Regions from separate parts of the Homo sapiens genome. Here region 2 is linked to region 1. The links are contacts of gene promoters, found by promoter capture Hi-C in human tissues and cell types (Jung and others, 2019). All regions are on one chromosome and are shown on one strand. Each heading gives the region's core, a stretch centred on a gene start or on the middle of the fragment in contact. The rest is flanking DNA. Distances are from core to core; before and after follow the strand shown.

Region 1 (6,014 bases), core at 793-3,292:
GACTGAGGTTGCTCAGGGCAGCCACCTTCTGGCATTAAAAGATAGTTCAACAATCCAGCATCTTAAAAAAAAAACCAAAACAATTTCTATCTATCTTGCTAGATGAATTGGGCATTTTGTTGCGTCTTGGATGAAATGGTAAATATTTACATTATATATGTACACCTCTACTTATATCTCTCTATCTCCATCTCTCTCGCTCCCATTTCATGAGGATGCTTACTTACAGCAAGGATCCATTCACGTATGATTTTAAGGACTTGCTAAAGATATTTGAATACAACTTGTTCAGGCCAGATCATACATTATCTGCTGTGGATAAAACAAGTTTGGATTTACAATGAAAATTGAGATAGAACAAAAGACTTGCTTAATAACCAGAAAATGAATGAGAGAAGTCCACATGAGCTTAATTAATTGGCTCAATATTTCTCTCTCTCTCTCTCTCTCTCTCTCTCTCTCTCTCTCTCTTTTCTTGAGACAGAATCTCACTCTGTCACCCAGGTTGGAGTGCAGTGGCATGATCTCGGCTCACTGCAACCTCCACCTCCCAGGTTCAAGGGATTCTCATGTCTCAGCCTCCTGAGTAGCTGGGATTACAGGCACGTGCCACCACACCTGGCTAATTTTTGTATTTTTAGTAGAGACAGGGTTTTGCCATGTTGCCCAGGCTGGTCTTGAACCCCTGACATCAAGCAATCGGCCCGCCTCAGCCTCCCAAAGTGCTGGGATTACAGGCATGAGCCACTGCACCCAGCTGGCTCAATATTTCTAACAGCTAAAAAGCTCATTTTGCTGCTCCGCTCCTCAGATGGACTTGCTCCCCTGTGCAGTGCTATATATGTGCTTGGGGACCATGCTGGGTATGGGAGTTTTTAGTCCTAGGACCCATATTTAGAGTAATTCTGAGATTTCTCTGATTCTCTCTCTCTATTTCTAGCTGGATCTCTTCTCTCACGGGTCCTCATTCAAATCTATCATTTCCAGTTTTCCACAGCCCCCACCCTTCCCTACTTACTACCTAACACTTGGCTGCTCCCTTCATCTTTATGACCTGTCTGAGCCTTGGAATATTTGAGTTTGAGACCTCTGTCTGGAGTCTTTTGTCTCTCTTTGTTAAGGGGGTTTTCTTCTTGAATTGAACATGCTTTCTGCAGGAGTTATCACTACAACCCTATCCTTCCTTTCAGACCTTGCTCAAATCTCTCTGCCTTTGCAAAAAACCCCTTCACACTCCTTCTCTTTCATCTCTAACCTTTTTGCAAGTGTATGTCTTGTGCAATCAGTTCCTGAAATACACTATCCTATTTGTATTTCTCTATGACATATGCTTCATATGAAAATAAAATAGAAATAATGGCCAAAACAGAGGAACATTAGTTATAATATAACTGTTATGTTTGTGGCACGTGATTTAAGTAAAATGACCGAAAGTTGCCCACTGACAATTGTTACTTATTTCTTCGAGGAGAGCTCTTCCAAAGTGTAGTTTAAAGGGGACAGGAAATAGCTGTAAATTAATGAAGCTGGATTTGCTCACCTCCATGATGCCCTCTTGCCTGGCCCAATACTGCATTTAGTTGGTATGAGGAAAGTTCACAAAATCTGCAAAAAAGCAATGTTGGTTAAATTTCCTCTATTTAATAATTTTTTTCCTAATCTTAATTAAGAGCTTTTAATTTATTAATTAATCTTGTCATCACTTTCTATAATGAGCATTTCCCATTTTATTTGTGGTTTTTAAAATGTGCCATTAATTGCAGAAATTAAGTATTAGTATGATTTCATACTATGGTGTTATTGTCAAGCTAAGAGCAGGAATTTGGTATCATTTCTTTATTAGCATTTAAAATACCATGTTCACTAATTATCCATTCCCTACTCGTATTCCACTGCTAAATTGCTGCTATGCTTGGAGGCTTTAGGAGTCTTCTTGCAATTTCAGCGGCTTAAGTTTTTTGTTCCTCTGCTTAAAAGAACCTCAGAGAAGAAGGCGGGGCTAAGAAGATTCCAGTTATAAAAGCTTTCCTCCTCCTGTGGGGAGAGACCAGCAGGATCCTTGGGTGAAAGAAAATCCTGCTTGACAAAAACCGTCACTTAGGGTATGTCATCAACTTTTGCTTTTTGCTTCTCCTTAAATGTTGCCATTGCTGTAACTTGTAGAATAGTACGAGTTTGTGTCTCTGGGAGGGGCATCATTTAGTTTTTCTATGAAGATTTGAAACTAAAGGAAGACAAAAATTTAAATTCCTCAAAGTGTTGTGGGCATAAGCAAATGCGGGTTCACAGATATATCTAATCCTCACTTAGATTTATTTAGAAATGTAGAATTATTTGCTGAATTTTTGAATGACTTTAAATATAATTACAGTTTTCTGTTTCTGATTGAAGGAGTTAGAAACTCCCTAAATGAGCTTTAATGAAAAATTCACTGGCATCTGAACTCTGCAACTGACTATCTGAAGCAATCCTATTGGGAACATAATAAAACAAGTTTTTTCTTGAATCAAGACTATGGTGAAATGTAAATTAACATCAAGAAATAATGCATTCAAATAGTAAATATTCTTTGATAATGAAAGGAGCGGGTATATTTAGCTTGTTTTTACATACTGTGTTTCCTTCCGTTCTTCCAGCCTGTTGAAACAGGCTCATCATTTGTATTATTTATAAGCAAGAGAGAAACACTGAAGGGCTGGATGAATAATTAAAGGTTTTATTTCCATTTAATTTTCAATCCATTATTGCCAGTGCTGACTTTTTCAGTGTTAGGATTCTTGAGCTGAACATAAGGAAATGGTTATTCCTTAAGACTATTCTATATGTGCTAATACAAAGATACTGATCATGAGAGAAGTTTTAGCTTGTCAAAATCTTGACAGTGCAAAGGACTTACTTCCAAGGTTGTGACTTTGGATGCATATTTATTTATAATTTGGAAAAAAGCTGTTTATTATTATTTATTAATAAGATATTTATAATTATATTACAAATAATATAATTGTTATAGAAATAATATAATTACATTATAAATTATAATTACATTACAATTTATAATAATAATTATCACTATCTTTGTTTTGCCTAAGAACTGATATCATTCTTGGCACCTGTGAAGACAGTAGGGGTCCAGGCTGCATAGGGACCCCTGCTTTTCCTCTTATTCTAAGAGGGTCTCAGCAAATAGCATCTTGGAGCATCACCTGCTGCCTGTATCTACCTCCTGTTTCTCACTTCTACTTTTTGGAGCAGGATACCTTGGGGTCAATGACTTCGGGAGCCTCCACTGGCTTTTGCTATTTTCCTAGTTTTCATCCATCTATTCAAACTGAAAAAAATTTGGCTGATAGAGGCAATTAGAAAAACAGGATAATGCCTACAACAAAATAAATCTCAGCTCTCTCCTGGTGGTGACTGAGACATGGAGGCACAGATGCCTAGTGACCTTTTCAGGTATTGTAACCCTTGTATGCACCCCTGCCATGCCCCTGCCAAAATAAGAGTGGAGGAGATCTCTCTGGATGGTGTCATTTATATTTGAAGCTTCTGCAAGTGTTATACTCACCATTTTCATGAATAATTGATGGCTCAAAGAGTGGAGATGGCTGGGGTTTGGTGTGGGGCCCTTTGGAGCATTTTCCTTAGAGTATGAACAAGTTTTTCCTCTCTCATTCAGTGTGCAAAGGAAAACATCTTGTTTCTCCCCCCACCCCATTTTTTTTTTAATCAGAAAGAGACTTAGAACTAGACAATCCTGATTGAAAATGACACTTTAGGACTGATTTGACCATGGTGATAGGTGAGCTAAAAAGCAACTTATAAAACATGCCAGAAGCCTTTTTTTATTAGGATAATAAGAGCACACTAATATTTTTTTTGTATTGAGTTCAAAGGATGCATGAATATTCTGTTGTTCATGAGTGACTTCTAGACTATTTAAAATTATTCATGACCATTGATAATAAAAATAGTACCACGGCCAACCTCTCCCCTCAGCAAACAACATGAGGTTTGTAACCCTTTGTTTAAATTTTGGCAGTGTACTAATGTTGTTAAGATGACAATCTATTTCTTCTCAAAGCTGTATTAAAGTGGCACAAATTAGCTTAATGTTTAAGATTGGGTCTCAGGCCAGCCTGCTTGATTTTGAATTCTGCATCCTCTACTTATTAGCTGTGTGACTTTGGGAAAGTTACCTAACCTCTCTGTGCCTTGGTTTGTCATCCATCTAAAGGAGAAAATAATAATCCATATAACTCATGGGGAGATGGATCCATGTAAATACTCTTTAACGTATCCATGTAAAGAGTATTTACATGGATCCATCTTGCCATGTGTTATATGGATTATTATTTTATTACAAGTACAGTGCCTGGCACATAATAGACATGACACAATACATAACAGTTATTTATTACTGACATTTGGATGGTGTTCCTGGTCTGATGGAGATGTATGTTTCATGTGCAAGCAGGACAAATTGTAATGTTCAGACATTCAAGTTGTGACTACACAAGAACACAAAGCCAAAATTAACATGATATTGCCGCTTGAACATCCAATCAGTTACCTGCATGTGTTTTGAAAAGATTTGATTATATGCTCTGGAAACATTTTATTGCACTTTAAGGACAAGGGGGTCCTTGGTGTGATCTGTGGGCCAGTGGTCCTCTGAAGGTGGTCCTGAGGCCACCTCATTAGCACCTGGGAACTTGCTAGAGATGCAGAATCTGGGGCTCACTGCAGATGTCTCATGCTCTTGAGGTGGGGCCCAGCACTCTGAGTTTTAATAAGTCCAGTGAGTCAGCCTGCAGGATGACGTATAGTTTCCTGTGTGAGAAACTGTAGGAACTGTTGGTCCTTAGTTTGTAACTGCCATCTCTCCTGATAGGTATGGTAGGTCTATCGTGAAGTTTTGAAAAAAATGTGAACGGTATTTCAAGAGTCCATCTTGATTTTAATTTTTACTGAGGTTATCTCTATGGTGGTCATTAAGATTCCATTAAATTCATCAGGCCCATTTGAAATTTTTGAGAGTAAAGACCATGAATAGAAATAATTGAGATTATTGATTAAAAACATGAAAGCAAAGATTGACATAGTTAAACAAGTAAATCCTAGAACTGGACAAATCCTTAGCTATCTCTCTGTGAAGGTCCCTTCCTTTGGGCCTGCCATGGAGATAATTCCATTGAATTTTACTTTCATGGCATAGCTTCAACTTGCATTCAGGACATTCTAAGAAATAGCCAGGCTAAGTTTAGTGCTGTAAGTCTTGCATGGCTGTGCAGGGATATTTACCACTATGTGGCCCAGTGTGCTTTTGGCATAGGCATTTTTCTTTTAACTTATTATTTTGAGATAATTATAGCTTCACAGGAAGTGGAAGAGGAAAAAGCATAGAGAGGGTCTGTGTACTCTTCACCCAGTTCCCCTCAATGGTGACACCTCATGTAACTATCATACAAGATTAATACCAGAGAATTGGCATTGGCACAATGCAAAGGCTTTATCAGATTTCACCATTTTTTTTTTTTTTTTTTGAGATGGAGTTTAGTTCTTGTTGCCCAGGCTGGAGTGCAATGGTGTGATCTTGGCTCACCGCAACCTCCGCCTCCTGGATTCAAGTGATTCTCCTGCCTCAACCTCCTGAGCAGCTGGGATTACAGGTGCCCTTCACCATGCCTGGCTAATTTTTTGGTATTTTTTTAATAGAGATGGGGTTTCACCATGTTGGCCAGGCTGGTCTCGAACTCCTGACCTCAGGCGATCCACCCGCCTTGGCCTCCCAAAGTGCTCGGATTACAGGCATGAACTACCACGCCCGGCCCCAGATTTCACCACTTGGACATGCATTCATTCATGTGTGTATAGTTTAATGCAATTTTATCACGTCAGTAGATTCGTATAACTACTGCCACAACCGAATTTTGGAACTGTTCCATCACTAGAAAAGCCCCTTCACTCTGCCCCTTTACAATCACCCCATCCTCCTCATCCTACCTGTCCCCAAA
Region 2 (6,320 bases), core at 274-2,773, 450 kb after region 1:
TTTTGGTTGAGACGAGGTTTTGCTATGTTGCCCAGTCTGGTCTCAAATTCCTGGCCTCAAGGGACCCTCCCACCTCTGCCTCCCAAAGTGCTGGGATTATAGGCGTGAGCCATCTCACCAGGCCTATAGTTCTTTGGCTTAAAATACTCAATGTGCTAACATGCTGTACTTTGAGGTAGTGTGCCTTGAATCCCATCAGTGTCCTTCTTATCTCTCATATGCAGGCTTATTTGTAGAATAAATGGATCCTCCCAAGAAGGGTTCATGGAGAAAATTCCCCCTTGGGTGTCAATATCTGAAAAACATGGCCCTGAAGTGCATATTGTGTTTTATTTTACAAACATTATGAATCCTGTAAACTAGTGGTGTGGATGTCTTGGCTTCAGCTAGCAGAGAGCTGGTGCATTTGTGGCTCACTTCTAGCTAATATTTAGGATCATTTGTTATACATTTTTCTGCTAATCATACCTTTAATTTATTTCCAGTATGCTGCTGCTATTTAAAATTATGTTAAAAAGGAATTCTTGGTAATGTAAAAAAAAAAAAAAAAAAAACCTCAGAACACAGTAGTGTATGCTCTATACAAAATGACATTTTTTAAAAAGACAGAAAAGGGCCAGGTGCAGTGTGTCTCACGCCTATAATCCTAGCACCTTGGGAGGCCGAGGTGGGTGAATCACCTGAGGTCAGGAGTTCAAGATCAGCCTGGCCAACAAGGTGAAACCCTGTCTCTACTAAAAATACAAAAATTAGCCAGGCGTGGTGGTGGGTGCCTATAATTCCAGCTACTTGGGAGGCTGAGGCAGGAGAATTGCTTGAACCCTGGCGGCAGAGATTGCAGTGAGCCAAGATCATGCCACTGCACTCTAGCCTGGGCGACAGAGCAAAACTGTGCCTAAAAAAGAAAAAAAGACAGAAAAGAAATACATCTGGAATTAGAAGTGAGTACTGGGGAGCAGGGGGGATTATGGATTATATTTTTCAAGCTAGCTTTTGTGAAGTTTTTAAAACATGAACATGCATTACTTTTATAAGGCTAATGGGAAAAACCATTAGCTTTGGAAACCAAAAAAAAAAAAAAAGAAAGCAAGTGAAGATCCCTCTGTGCACATGGGGCCGGCACCATTTACCTGTAATGGCATCAGGAACATTAGGAAATTGGAAACGGGAGCATCAGCACTTGCACAATTTAATAATTTGCTGATCACTGCCATGCATTAGACTTTAACTATTTTGTCTACAAAGCATGAGCATGCCTTTATGTAGTTAATGCAGCCACATTAAACATTTATATGATGTCTATTTTCCCAGGGCTTGTTTGTTTTCACTTTTTCATATCGGGAGCTGATGCAGCTGCTCTCTGTCTTCTCAGGTGAGGCTCCTGCAGGTGGAGAGGCAAGAAAGCCTCCTCTGTGGCATGCCCGAAGCTGCAGAGAGCTTCTAGGCAGAAAAGTTTGCCTTTTTTTTTTTTTTTTTCCCTCTTTCTCTCCCCTCTGCCCTCCCAGGGCATTTCCTGGGTGTCACGCTCGTGTTTCATTTTGATTGATGCTAATGGCATTTTCAAACTGCAATTTCCCAGGCTTACTTAAAAACCATACTTGGAGATTGTGATAGCAATGTTTCCAATTAACACAACACTCTTCACCCAAGTTTTCAATACTTGGTTAATTCATGGAAAATGAACTCAAAGGATTTAAGAAACTATTTCTCTCCCAAAACAGTTGTGCATTGGAAACACGATCAAGTTCTGAATCTCTAAGCATATCCTGCATGAAAATTAGCTCCATGAAATTAAGCTTCCTTTTTTATTTTTTTGAGACAGGATCTCACTCTGTCACCCAGGTTGGAGTGCAGTGGTGCAATCATGACTCACTGTAGCCTCAAACTCCTGGCCTCAAGCAGTCCTCTTGCCTCAGCCTCCCAAAATGCTAGAATTACAGGCATGAGCCACCACACTCGGCCATAATCCCTTTCTTATGCCTCCTTCTTAGGGTTGCCAGATAAAATATAGGGCATCCAGTTAAATTTAAATTTCAAGTAAACAACAAATAATTTTTTTTTAGTATAATTGTGTCCCAAATACTGTATCATTTTTCTCCCCTAAATGATGAACCTTCCCCTCTGGTTAGAACTGGCCATGTCCAGAAAGGAAAATTTGATCAGTGCCTTATTGCCATAGTGGTGTAGTTGAGATCGGATTTGGCAGTTTAGACAAAATGGCTCATTTGATGCTTTTCTTCAAGGACAAGGTGATTTTTACTCTGTCAAAAACAAATTAAAAAAAAAAAAGTTGGCCTTTGCCAATTCGATCTTTAAACTTGTTGCCATTTTGTTTTTGATTCATGAGTCATGATGTACCCAGCTATGAAACAGAAAAGGTGCTTTGCCCCGTGGGCAGAAGAGTTGGTTTTTGTAAGGCAGCTTGAGCAGGAACAAGGAAATAGCATAAGACAAACCAGAGGTGGGGTGGCATCAGGTCACCTCAGGCTGCCTTCCTCACAAGGATTGAAGCAGAGGGACTTTCTTACCACATAGCTTACAACTGGATCTCCCTTCTGATTTCTCAAATGTCAGATAAACAACGTCGTTTCAGTTTGGTGACATGGAATTTAAGTATGAGTGACTCCATTTTGGAACAACTCTGTGGGGCTGCTTGGAAGCCCCCGGAGAGAAGCCTGAGCTGCATCTCACCGTGTGTTTCATCCATGGCGTGCTCCCAGCTCTAGCGTGCGTGGAGAGAGGTCATGGAGTGTGGTTGCTTTACTTTCTACAAAAGTTCCGAAAGCAGGAGCCCACTGGGTGAGCTGGGGAAGGAACAGAATGGGAGGGGGAGAGAGGAGGAAGTCACTGCAGCTCGTGATCTCACCCCTAAACCTTCTGTTAGTCAAGTTCCTAGCCCCACAAAACGCTTGGTGTGAGTAGATACCTTATGTAACTGGTGAGGTGCCTGGGCTTTTTTATCATTGTGTCTAAGGGATGGAACAGAGGCAGCTCACACAGACTCAGAAGCATTTAGGACAGAAGAGACCACGAGGAGGAGCCCCCTGGGAACTTGCAGGAATGGTGGAAGACTGACAACGTCCCCCTGACATCTAGGTTACAGTTTTAGAGTAGACGGAGCTGTGCATTTGGCAACTAACTGCCTCTATTCAATTCTTGTATCTACTACTACTAGCTGTGTGATCTTACGCAAATAACTTAACCTCTCTGATCCTCAGATTTCACATCTTTAAAAACAGAATATTAACACCTACATCCAGGGTCTCCTTGAGACTTAAATGAGGCATGGAGGTGATGCACCCGGTAGGTAGTAGGAGTCTCCAATAAGTTAGTTGTCTTTTTCTCTTAATTCCACTATTTCTAGGAGGTGAATACACTAGAAAAAAGTTTGTACAGCTGAATAACTAATCATACACAAACAATGTGGTGAACAATTCTTTTCCTACAACTTTCAGGTTACAGAGGAGGGGCGGGGAAAGATGACGTCACAAGAGCAGGGTTAGTTGCACCAGCAAATGAGGCAGGTTTCCGTACCCCTGCAACCCCCGCCTTGCTGCACACGTGCACACACATACACACACGCACACGCTCAAGAATGGGTCCTCCATCCTCCAATGCCAACTTTTATTATAGTTCAGTCATTTGAAATTACTCGTACCAAGTCTTTTCTCCATTTTTGTGCATAATTGAATAATCCAGCTACTTAACAAAGGCCTTCGTGTATCTTTATTCTTCCTCAAACCCTTCAAAAAAATGTATAACTTTTGCCAAAACTTATCCAGAAGTACCAATGTGCTTGCGATTAGGACTTCTTTCCAGTTGAGCTCACTGCCATATCTAAATCTGTGTTAGCTACAGACTCCACACAGAGAGACCCATGAACGAAAACTCAATCTACACCATGGGCATCAGGGCTGCTTTCAAGGGTTTGATTCAACGACAGTCTTAATCGGAGTGCACAACAGCTGGTGTAAATCCAAGCCTTCGCCTTGGCAAGAGAGGAGCTGCTTTCAGAGCAGGCCTGATGGGTGAGGCTGGAGAGGCAGGCTGCCTTTCTGATAGAGCTCATCAGGGACTTCCCATGAGAGCCGCCCGCAGTGCCTCAATGCTGAGATAGAAAAGATGAGTTTAGTGAGAGCTCAGAGTGGTTGTACATAAGCAAAACTGTGATCTCCCAAGAGAAGGGCAGAGATGGCCATGCAGATGGCTGCAGGCACATGCAGATGCCTGTGGCTTTGTCCTCTCCCCTGGAAATGCAGAAGAGAATGGTTCCCTTGTCCTCTGCTCTCTCTCAACCATCCTGCAGGAACTTATAAGAAACACCTTTGTCATCGCCTAAAGGGAGTGAGGAGTGAACTGTAAATCTCAGGTCTGGTGTAACGAGATGATTTTTGCAGTAGGATAGAACATTTTATCAATCCTAAGAGCAACATTCCAGTCTTTTTTCAGATAGGACCACTCCGCTAGCATAGATTTAACCCAGAAATTAGGAACGCAGAGGACTGATTGTATCCCCAGTGGCTCTAGCCAGAAACAATTATCCACTTGGCTCATTAAAACAAGTAACAAATGGCTAATTGTCTCCACAATTTGCCAAGTGCTGGTTCAGTTACTTGTGCCTGTGAACTCAGGAATATGAAGAGAGGCTGGCAAGAATAGAAGAGGAACTAAAATTCTGCCATACATAGATGGGTCCATCATTTTATTTTTTATTCTCTTCCTTAGTGTGGGGAGAGTGGAGCAGGGGGTACAAAAAGAGAAGGATTGAACAGGATGACCCTATGTTACTTTCTGTGTTTCAAGTACTATGATTCATGGTGAAACAAAATGAATAGAATCATACCAGATCTGTGATCAGTTTCAGCAGAATATACATCATCATGAAGTCCCCAGGAGAGGTGAACAAGGAAGGAATGCTCTCCTCACGTTTCTGGAAGTTCCCTGAGGCCCTGCCCAGCTTCTCTTTGGTGATAGGTGAGACCCAGGTGCAGCAGCCCAGCCGTGCTGGGGGGGACTCGGCCTGAGCAGAAGGCAGCAAGAGGAACCTGGGTCCACCCTTCTGTCCTAGTCCATTAGTGCTGTTACAACAACATACCCGAGAATGGATAATTTATAAACAGCAGGAATTTATTTCTTATACTTCTGGAGGCTGAGAAGTCCAAGATCACTGCACCAGCAGATCGGGTGTCTGGTGGGAGGTCTCTGCATCATAGATGGGGCCTTCTACGTGTCCTCTCATGGCAGAAGGGCCAAACAGATGCACCCAAGCCTTTTTATAAGGTCATGAATTCCATTTCTGAAGGCGGAACCCTCCTGACCTAATCACCTCCTAAAGGTCTCACCTCTTAATGCTGTTGCATTGGGGGTTCAGGCTCAACATGAATTTTGGAGGGACACCAACATTCAAATCATAGCACTTTCCTTCTGAAATTATTGGTAGGATGAAGCTCTGGACTTCTGCCTAACACCTCCCTTCTTCCCTTTATTCTTCTGCATTTGCATCTAGCTTGATTTTTTATTTTTCCCAAATTTTCTGAAGATCAGAAAATTGTATCAGTAAATTTCCGGTGATAAAACACCAACAGCCCGTTCTACTCTTGCACAGTCAGGACGGGGTGTGTCTGTGCTGAGGACAACAGGCAGACTCAAGTCCTCTGTCTTCTTCAGAGACACCCTTGAGAGCAAACAAGGAAAATGAAAAGGAAGTTAATAAAAATAAATATTAGGCAAAAGATCATAAAAACTTTAAATGGGAATGAAATAAGAAAGAAAGAGACACAGGGAAGGAGAGAGATGGTGTCTGGGAGATCCTTCTACATGAAAAGTTCCCAGCAGGCAGAGATGACCCTTATTTATTAGGCTGGTGCAAAAGTAATTGTGGTTTTGCCATTAAAAGCTGCAATTACTTTTGCACCAATCTAATACCAGAAGACTCACTCTCTGCTTCTCTCTCTCTTTTTTTAGATGGAGTCTCATTCTGTCACCCAAGCTGGAGTACAGTGGCGCAATCTCAGCTCACTGCAACCTGCTTCTCCCGGGTTCAAGCGATTCTCCTGCCTCAGCCTCCCCAGTACTGGGACTACAGGCGTGCACTACCACGCCTGGCTAATTTTTTGTATTTTTTAGTAGAGACGGGGTTTCACCATGTTGGTCAGGCTGGTCTCGAAGTCCTGACCTCAGGCAATCTGCTTGCCTCACCTCCCAAAGTGCTGGGATTACAGACGTGAGCCACTGTGCCTGGCCCTCCCTGCTCTTCTTGTCCTGCACTGAGCATCTCCCACCTTCTAGCAGATCTGATCGATCAGTTTGTTCCAGTGTAC

Evidence for each region. The method cuts DNA at HindIII sites, captures the fragments that hold promoters and counts their contacts. A contact is called where the count stands out against the background at its distance.
Region 2: a fragment that was not itself captured here is called in contact with the fragment with the promoter of TRPM8 in region 1 in 2 of the 25 tissues and cell types used here (bladder and liver).

What each region holds. Positions count from the first base shown.
Region 1 is chr2:233,915,331-233,921,344 of GRCh38, forward strand. TRPM8 (transient receptor potential cation channel subfamily M member 8) reads left to right here and starts at 2,043. Exons shown (of 26, transcript NM_024080.5): 1 at 2,043-2,102. The HindIII fragment of the contact is 3,092 bases long and covers 1-2,783 here.
Region 2 is chr2:234,370,822-234,377,141 of GRCh38, forward strand. No RefSeq gene overlaps it. Among named protein-coding and RNA genes, the nearest start is that of LINC01891, 81 kb to the right of the region's middle. The HindIII fragment of the contact is 5,750 bases long and covers 1-4,398 here.